2 separate regions of the Homo sapiens genome follow, and region 1 is linked to region 2. The links are contacts of gene promoters, found by promoter capture Hi-C in blood cells and fetal thymus (Javierre and others, 2016). All regions are on one chromosome and are shown on one strand. Each heading gives the region's core, a stretch centred on a gene start or on the middle of the fragment in contact. The rest is flanking DNA. Distances are from core to core; before and after follow the strand shown. Region 1 overlaps USP4 (ubiquitin specific peptidase 4). Region 2 holds the start of CCDC71 (coiled-coil domain containing 71).

Region 1 (4,674 bases), core at 769-3,268, 160 kb after region 2:
AGAACCCCAGTTTTTAGCTGGACATGATGCAGTCCTGCTATACAGTACATCCCAGCCTTCCTGAAAGCCAGGTATTGTCATATGATTAGCCAATGAGATACAAAGGAGGTTTGATGTATGATATCTGAGAAATGTCCTAAAAAGGAAGGGGTAGGTCAGCTGGGTTTAATATTGCCATGGAGCTGCTACGTCAGCAATGGATTGACTGCCTACGTCAGAAATTCTTTTCAGAAAGATGTAAGCCTCCATCTTGCTTAATACGCTAATTTGCAGATTTTTCTTACCTGCCAGCAAGCCTTTCCTAACTGACGTAGTATGTTTCAAAGTTATACATTCAATTTTCCGTTTCTGTTAGTTGTTCCATTAACTTATTAGGATCTCTATTTTTATTTTTCCCCATAAATTACATAAACTTACAATTGTTCACCTTTCTCATCCTCAAGAATAGTAGTTCTGGACATTCTCATCTCTCTCTGCTCTATACTAATTCCTCACCTATGTTGGAATTACCCAGAATTTATCTCTGGAATATTATAGATACTAGTTGCTTTCTTAAACCTTGATTATTATTGTACCTTTTTTTTTTTTTTCTCCTGAGACAGAGTCTCACTGTATCGCCCAAGCTGGAGTGCAGTGGCACGATCTAGGCTCACTGCAATCCCCACCACCATTCTCATGCCTCAGCCTCCCCAGTAGCTACGATTACAGGCATGTGCCACTGCACCGGGCTAATTTTCTTCTATTTTTTAAGAGATGGGGTTTCAGCATGTTGGCCAGCCACCGCACCTGGCCTATTATTGATTTTTTTTGGCCGGGCGCCGTGGCTTATGCCTGTAATCCCAGCATTTTGGGAGGCCGAGGCAGGCGGATCACTTGAGGCTAGAAGTTCGAGACCAGCCTGGCCAACATGGTGAAACCCCGTCTCTACTAAAAATACAAAAATTGGCTGTGCATGGGTGGCATGCACCTGTAATCCCAGCTACTCAGGAGGCTGAGGCACAGAATTGCTTGAACCCAGGAGGCAGAGGTTACAGTGAACCGAGATCATGCCACTGGACTCCAGCCTGGGCTACAGATCAAGACTCCGTCTATTAAAAAAACAAAAAAACAAAACCCCTGAGTGTATAAAATCAAGAAATTTGCACCAAGTGATACATCCATGTAACCACTACCCTGACCAAGAAACAGGACACCCCCAGACCCCTAGGTGTCCTTCTCACGATTCAGTCGCAATTCTTCCCAACACTAACCAGTTCTGACCATGAATCCCCAAGGTTAATTTTGCCTGTTATAAAGTTTTAAGTCAACAGAATCATTATGCCCTGCTCTGTGTCTACCTTCTCTCATTCATCATTTTTCATTAGACTCATCACTGTTGTGCAAAGCTGGACAGAATTTCCTTGTGTGCTTACACTTACTGCAGTTTATCCATTTACTTTTGATGGACATTTGGGTTAGCTCCAGTTTGTAACTATGACAAGCAGTGCTAGCACAAACATCCTGAAATATGTATTTAAGAGAACATGGGATATATTTCTATTGGTTATATGCCTAACAACAGGATTGTTGAGTAGCAGAATGTGCATATAATTCTACATTTTTGCCTCTTTTTTTTACTAGTGTTGCCTGACTTGTTTGTATTGACTAGTAGGAATTTCTTTGCAACTCTAGATATACGACCAGCTGTGGTGGCTCATGCCTGTAATCCAGCACTTTGGGAGGCTAAGGCAGGCAGATAACTACAGGCCAGGAGTTCAAGACCAGCCTGGCCAACATGGTAAAACCCTGTCTCTACTAAAAATACAAAAATTAGCTGGGCATGGTGGTGGGAGCTTGTAGTCCCAGCTGCTCGGGAGGCTGAGGCATCAGTCACTTGAACCCGGGAGTGGGGGTGCAGTGAGCTGAGATCGCACCATTGCACTCCAACCTTGGCAAGAGAGTAAGACTCCGTCACAGGGAAAAAAAAAAAAGAAAAAAAAATTCTGGACACAACTTGTCAGACATGGATTACAAATCTCTTCTCTCACTGTATGGCTTATGGCTTGTCTTCACTCACTGGTGAACAGACATTCTTTTTTTTTTGAGATGGAGTTTCGCTCTTGTTCCCCAGGCTAGAGTGCAATGGTGCAATCTCAGTTCCCTGCAACCTCCGCCTCCCGGGTTCAAGCGATTCTCCTGCCTCAGCCTCCCAAGTAGCTGAAATTACAGATATGCACCACCACGCCTGGCTAATTTTGCATTTTTAGTAGAGACAGGGTTTCTCCATGTTGGTCAGGCTGGTCTCAAACTCTCAACCTCAGGTGAGCCGCCCACCTCGGCCTCCCAAAGTGCTGGGATTACAGGCATGAGCCACTGCTCCTGGCCTTTTTAAAAAAAAAAAAAAAAAAAAAAAAAAAGAGATGGGGTCTTGCTGTCGCCCAGGCTGGAGGGCAATGGCAGAATCATAGCTCACTGCAGCCTCAAACTCCTGGACTCAAGCAATGCTCCCACCTCAGCCTGTCAGGTAGCTGGGACTACAGGCACTCACCATTGTGCTTAATCCCATCTGCAAAGTCCCTTTTGCCATGTCACCTGACATAATGACAGATTCTGAAACAGATTCTGGGAATTAGGATATGGATATCTCAGGGTGAAGATGAGCACAGCTATGCCTACCACAGCTATTTTATTTATCTTGTCAACAACTGGCAACCGGGGTTTCTTAAACTGGAGTCCATGACTGGACTTCAGGGGTTCTAACAGTTCTTCTCTTAAGAACTCATAGTTTTCATGGTTCTCAAATGACCTAGGAGCCCACTACTATGTAATGGTCACAGTCCAAGGCCTGACAGAGGGAAAAGGACAGAGCGCAACATTATTCCCATAACTACTGGAACACAGATATAATTTCCAAAACTTATACCATAACGAAAATTAATCACTTCTTTATCTCCCTAAGAACATGCACAGTTCCACATACCACATGAACATCTCTTGAAACAGATGTGTCCTTAGTCCAAGTTTTGTAGCTGAACAATTCACCCAGCAAGCTCCCAGGGCAACAATGAGTAACAGGCCACTGGGCAGAAACAGGTAGAATCAAGCTATCACTTTTTTTTTGTTTTTGTTTTTTTTGGGTCAGAGTCTTGCACTGTCACCTAGGCTGGAGTATAATGGTGCGATCTCAGCTCACTGCAGCCTTCACCTCCTGGATTCAAGCGACTCTTGAGCCTCAGCCTCCCGAGTAGCTGAGATTACAGGTACCTGCCACCATGCCTAGCTAATTTTTGTATTTTTAGTAGAGACAGGGTTTTACCATGTTGACCAGGCTGGGCTCGAACTCCTGGCCTCAGGTGAGCCACCTCCCACGGCCTCTCAAAGTGCTGAGCTTACAGGCATGAGCCACCATGCTCAGGCCTCAACTATCACTTTTAAGTCATATAAAACCCCATGCCTTAGCCTTCCTCTTATCCATCAAGGCCTCTAACTACATGTGGAGAAAATAAAAGCGTGACAAAAACAAAGCAACCTCCTGGTAGAGCAGCAACCTTAGACTTGATCCCTCATATCCCTTCCTCCTTTTCTCATTCTCCACGAGCAGAGGCTCGCCACCTTGCTGAGATATCCTGACAGGCTTCCCTTAGATGCTGCCCTGCTACCAAAAGCCACGGTCTTCATCCAGAAGCATGAACTCTGGATATACAAAATAGGCATTGTTCATCTGAATCAGAACAATTTTTCTTAGTACAAGTACTGCCTTAGGAAAGACTGTCTCTTTTGCACATGTGAGCCTACAACAAGGGAGAAAAAATTCACTTACTTTGACTGCAAGGTCTGCCTGGGCCATGTGCCATCTTCATTTTGAGGCTCAATTACTAGCACCTGAGTGAAAGGGGAAACCAAATGAGGAGAGTTCAAACCACCGCACTTCCAACATGCTTAGAAGCAAAAAGTATCTGGCCACACACCCTGGGCAGAGCTACCTGCTGGGGAATGGCCAGGGCCCTCCTACCTGACCCTGGTATAGCCCAGCATCCTGGACAGTGTTGTCTAGCTTGCTCAACTGCTCGTAGGTGTTGCTCATGTATTTGTTCCAGAGCCGTGTTTCACGCTCCGCAGGGATGTTGAATAGCTTCCGCATCTCTTTCTCGATGGTTGCTAGGAACAGGCAGAAATATCACTTGGGGCTTTGTCCACATGCAAGGCTAAAGACAGCCATGGCAAACTAATGCTCATCCTCTTTCTTGTCAGATGCTCACAGGTGCTCTGGATCAACCCCCTGATACCTCTTAAAATCAATCATCTCCCATGGGTGGCCTCTTGCACTCATATGCCTGGAAAGTATCCCTATGCTTCTTTGCTAACGTGTGTCTCTCATTTATGGCGCAAAAGCAACATAGAAAGCGAGAAAGCTTATCTTTGGAGTTAACTCAGATATGGCTTCAAAAGCTAGCTCCACCATTTTCTGGCTGCGATTTGTTTTTTTTTTTAAGAGACAGGATCTTGCTCTGATGCCCAGGCTGCAGTGCAGTGGTGGGATCGTAGCTCACTGTAAACCTTGCTGAGATTTTTAAATAAGTTATTTTTAAACTTCTTTGGATCTACATTTCCTTATCTTCATTATCATAGACAAATGGGCAAGGAGCAGGCCCAGTGTTCTCTCCATAAGAATTCCTGGAGGAATAGGCCCCCAGG
Region 2 (4,596 bases), core at 612-3,111:
ATGCTCAGAAATACCTCAGAGCCATCCAACCTGCTGCCGGGTCCCTGAAAAGATTTGAGCCTGGTACATTTTAATTCAACTCTGTATTTTCTGAAGCCAGAAACCTAGAATTACTCAGCTCTGGGAATACAGGCAATATCCCTGTCCTCAAGGAACCTAGGTTAGAAGGCCAGAAAAAGACACTGTTAAGATTCTTGGGAGTGAATGCTGGCATTCAGCTCAGTTTGCCAATGGGTCAGGAAAGGATTCCTGGGAGAGACAACACCTAGCTAGGATATGAGTGATGAATGAAAAATGATTAGATGGAAATGGAACAAAAAGGGGAATAGCTAATGCAATGGCTCCAAAGTGAGAAAGGGTTAAGGCATACTTGGTGTGGGATCTGGGATCTAGGTGAAAAAACAGGCGAGGATAGAGCAACAAAGAACCCTGAATGTTAGCCAAAGGGCCCAGACTTACACCCACTGTCCATGCCCATCTGTTTCTCCAGCTGCTGCTGTTCATGTGTGGAGCTGGAGTGGGGTGGGGGAATCTCCCTGCCCACCAGAAGTTCTGTTTTCAGTCTCTAGACAGGGTACTCAGCAACCCATTTTCTAGCTCCAGAGGCATGGAGACCTAATCAAGAGTCGGACTTTTCTTCAACAGAAACTAAAAAGCTGATGAGTAGCAGGTGCCAATGACATCTCTCTAGGCAACCAGGCAGACCAGGGACCAGGAAGCCAGACCAAGATCCCAAAGTTTAAGGACAATGGGAGCCAAAGGCTGCAAGTAGGATGGTGAGTCAAGGGGACATTAGCGGTATGCACTGTCCTACCTAAGACTTGGAGGGCCACAGACCTCAGTACAGCCCAGATGGAGGTGACTGAGAACACCTAACTACTCCCAGACTTCTTTAAAGAAGCTGTGGACATCAATCATAACTAACATCTAATACCCAACCCAACACTGAGGGTTCCCAGAAGCAAGAGGCAGCTCCCCAGCTGCACCAGAGCATTAAAAGATCAGCCAGGATCAGGCAGGTCCCTCGGGCCATGAGGCCCGTCTGTGTAGTTTCTTCCCACCGCTCTAATGCAGCAGATGAAGTCTTCAGAATACCCTGGAGGAAATGCCCTAGGGCTCTTTGTTTGGAAACATTCTTGGATCCTCAGGTGTCTTGGGCACTTCCCCTCCCCAGAGACCGTTCTCCAAGCACAATCCTTGCACATGACTTTAGTTCTTTATTAATGTTTTTTGAAGGGATGTAGTTCCCAGAGCTGTGAACTGTAGAAGAGAGAGGGACCTATTTCCCACCCTCACACGCGCCCCAGCGCAAATATTTGGGGTGACCTGGGGGCTCTTCCACCCAGGTTAGGCTGGGCTCTTGGGAGGGGTTTTCTGGGCTTTCGAGAAGCTTCGGAAACAGAGGCTCCTGCCCGGCCTCCGACTTCCCTTCACACGTGCCCCCGGGGAAGGCAGGAGAAGTTGACGGAAGATAGGGCGTGAGAGAGGCGCCACACAGGCAGACCGGGGGAGGGGGCAGATCGGGGCCCTCAGGCTGGGAATGCACGTCCTTAGGGCCCAAGCCGTGAGGCGGGGGTCACTGAGGCAGCGAAATGTACAGGGTGAACGGTGCTAGCCCTACCGGGACCGCACAGCCCCAGGGTGGGGTCGCTGGGCGCGGGGTGGGGGTGGGGTGGGGGGTCTCGGCCAGGCCGGCGGAGGACGCGGGTCCGGGAAGAGTTGGCCGCTTGCCCGTCCGCCCTGCCGCCTCGCGGGCCGCCCCTCCGCGGCGCGGCTAGGCCCGCGGCTCCAACCTACCGGCGCCGCCGCGGGGACCCAAGACGCGCCTCTGCGCCGCCTCCGCTGCTCCAACATGGCCGCCCGCTGCGCGCCGGAAGTGCACTGCGCTTCCGCTTCCGGGACCCAGCCCGCCCTACCGACCCTTGACCCCTGAGACCCCATTTCCCCACAAAGTCTGGGGGCGGAGCAGATTGGGTACCAAGGAGGACTGCCTGGAGGTGGTGGCCGCGGTGACTGCTCCAAACCCGTTCGGCCCTGTGCAGAAGTCTGAAGAACAGAGGTGCCCTCTGACGCGGCCCCAGGCAAGGACTCACTAGAGCCCGGCCAAGACTGGATTAGGGGTCATCTGACACCTTTTCTGAGGGGAGCTAGTGGTGCATTGACATCTGGGAGGGGCTCCTGACAAGGTTCAGGCCATCTTCCACCCTCTGATCTATCTTTAGCCACTGACAATGCCCACTTCAGTCCCAGACACCTGACCAGAGGGTGAAAGAGGAGTGCCTCCTGACAGGGAGTCTCAGGTGATCTCCTTTGTTTTGCAGTAAGGGTATCTTCTCCGAGGACAGCAGGCCTTCCTCTCTTCCTGAGAATAGGGCCTGTGGCACATGGCATGAAAGGCTGGTGTGCACGTGATCACAAGTGGTGCACGCAAGCCCAAGCGCACATGGAGTCTGGGGGCTCCAGTATACCACTGTGGGCCTGAGTATACTTGCTCAGGCAGGTGGGGGCAGGTATAGTCACTGGCCCAGCCTCAGCCCCTCAATGGAAGGAAGTCCTGCTTCCAGTCTTAACACTGCCCAGAACCCCTTTCCTTTTGCCTAGGAGTCTGGGACCTCAGTCTTTTTATCCATGCTCTTGGGCTAGTACGGGGTGGTGGTTATAGGACACAGGTCAAAATCAACCCTAGGGGTCTGTGACTTCAGTGAGAGGTCAGAGTGGTCTCCACAGCTCTGACCAAAGGTCCCATTAGTCAGAGGTTTGCAAGTCCAGGTTGGGAACCATCCTGGGAGCCCTGGTTTCATGGATGAGGTAGTGGGGGCATTTGCACTAGGGTCAGAGCCTGAGCCAGGAGGCAGAAATATTGCCACAACTCTTGGACTCTGACCCTTGCAGTGGTGCCTTATTTGGTAGTTGGGGTCAGGTGGAAGCCTATTGGCAATCACAGGAGGGTGGCGGGATGCTTCATTTAGGGACTGGGTACTAGCCCTTTTTCCTGCCCTTTTTCCAACCAGGATCCTCTGGTTGCTCTGTATTTTCCCTGCTTATACAGAGGGGTCCAGGCACTCCTAAAGACAAGTGCCTAGTCCACCCAGCAGTGCCATAGGCCTCATCTGGTGCCTCTTAGCTTCCCAGGGCCTCAGCACTAATGGTGAGGTCCTCGCTGCTTTTAAGTATAGCCAAGGTATCTAGCAGGAACTGCAAAATCTCCTGTTCCTCTGGGGTCAGTGCTTCTAGCCTTTTTTTCCTGGTGGAGAGAAAGCAAGAGTAGGGTCCCAGGGGCCAGGATCTCATGGGGTGCAGTCAGGAAGCCCCACCTTGGTGCCCCCAGTCCCCAGCTGTGGGTGAGTCCAGTCTCTGGCCGTCCATGGTTGAAGATTGACTGTTCACTTATTCAGGACCGATTCAACCAGTTACCTTCTGCAGCTTCTCCAAAGCCGGCAGTGTTGGCCTCCTGTGTGCAGGTGGGCCATGGCTGTGCAAACAGAAACCCCTTCCATGGAGAGCCAGAGCCCATCCTCCAGGGATAGCAACAGTACAGTTATATCCAGACCCCTCTCTGGTGATGTTCAGCTCAGAAGTTAGGGCAAATGGAAAACCAGGAAGGGTAGGTCCATCCTCCGGCTGTGCTGTGTCCCTTCCAGACATGAGAACTGGGGAAATGATAGAGATTAGGGATAAGGATCATGGGGGTACCTAGCTCCCTTTGGGGGTGGTAGGGCCGAACTTTTTGCCTCCTGGTGCCCAGTATGCCCTAGATGGAACTCTTTGGGAGCGCTCATCAGAGTGCAGTCTGACTTGACCTGGACTCTAGTGGCTGCTGAGCCTACAGGCACAACTGGGACCAGACAGGATGAGATGGGAGAGAACACAGGGTGATCCCAGGACCCAATCTTTGCTTTCCATTTGGCATCTTATATGGTTCTTTTTTTCCTTCTTCTTCCTTTTTTTTTTTTTTTTTTTTTTTTTTGAGACAGTCTCCTTTGTTGCCCAGGCTGGAGTGCAGTGGCGTGATCTCAGCTCACTGCAACCTCTGCCTCCCAGGTTCAAGCAATTCTCCTACCTCAGCCTCCAGAGTAGCTGGGACTACAGGCGCCTGCCATCACACCTGGCTAATTTTTGTATTTTTAGTAGAGGTGGGGTTTCACCATGTTGGCCAGGCTGGTCTCAAGCTCCTGACCTCAAATGATCCACCCACCTTGGCCTCCCAAAGTGCTGGGATTACAGGCGTGAGCCACTGTGCCTGGCCAATTTTTTGTATTTTTAGTCAAGCTGGGGTTTCACCATGTTGGCCAGGCTGGTCTTGAACTCCTGACCTCAGGTGATCTGCCCACCTCAGCCTCCCAAAGTGCTAGTATTACACGTGTGAGCCACCTGCCCCTCCAGCCTTATATGGTTCTCAGTGGATCCTGGACCCAGCTCTATCTGAGCAGAGAGATGTGATGGAGCTTTAGATGTGAATGAAGGCAGTGGCCTGGGAGGGACTGCCCCAAGAGGAAATATGTGTGCCAGGGAGAAAAGCCAGGGTTGAATCTTGAGGAGCCAATTCCTGGTGATGGAGAAGAAGCAGAGCCTGCAAAAGATTCTAGGCCAGGCGCG

What was found. The method cuts DNA at HindIII sites, captures the fragments that hold promoters and counts their contacts. A CHiCAGO score of 5 or more calls a contact.
Region 1: a fragment that was not itself captured here is called in contact with the fragment with the promoter of CCDC71 in region 2 in 5 of 17 cell types (endothelial precursors, M1 macrophages, erythroblasts and 2 more); the score reaches 7.2 in endothelial precursors.

The regions. Positions count from the first base shown.
Region 1 is chr3:49,320,903-49,325,576 of GRCh38, forward strand. It overlaps USP4 (ubiquitin specific peptidase 4), which reads right to left. Exons shown (of 22, transcript NM_003363.4): 5 at 3,992-4,137; 6 at 3,800-3,861. Among named protein-coding and RNA genes, the nearest start is that of USP4, 17 kb to the right of the region's middle. The HindIII fragment of the contact is 4,741 bases long and covers 1-4,389 here.
Region 2 is chr3:49,164,470-49,169,065 of GRCh38, forward strand. CCDC71 (coiled-coil domain containing 71) reads right to left here and starts at 1,862. Exons shown (of 2, transcript NM_022903.4): 1 at 1,798-1,862. RefSeq lists silencers at 1,624-1,683, 1,704-1,783 and enhancers at 1,934-2,003, 2,024-2,143. The HindIII fragment of the contact is 8,654 bases long and covers 1,389-4,596 here.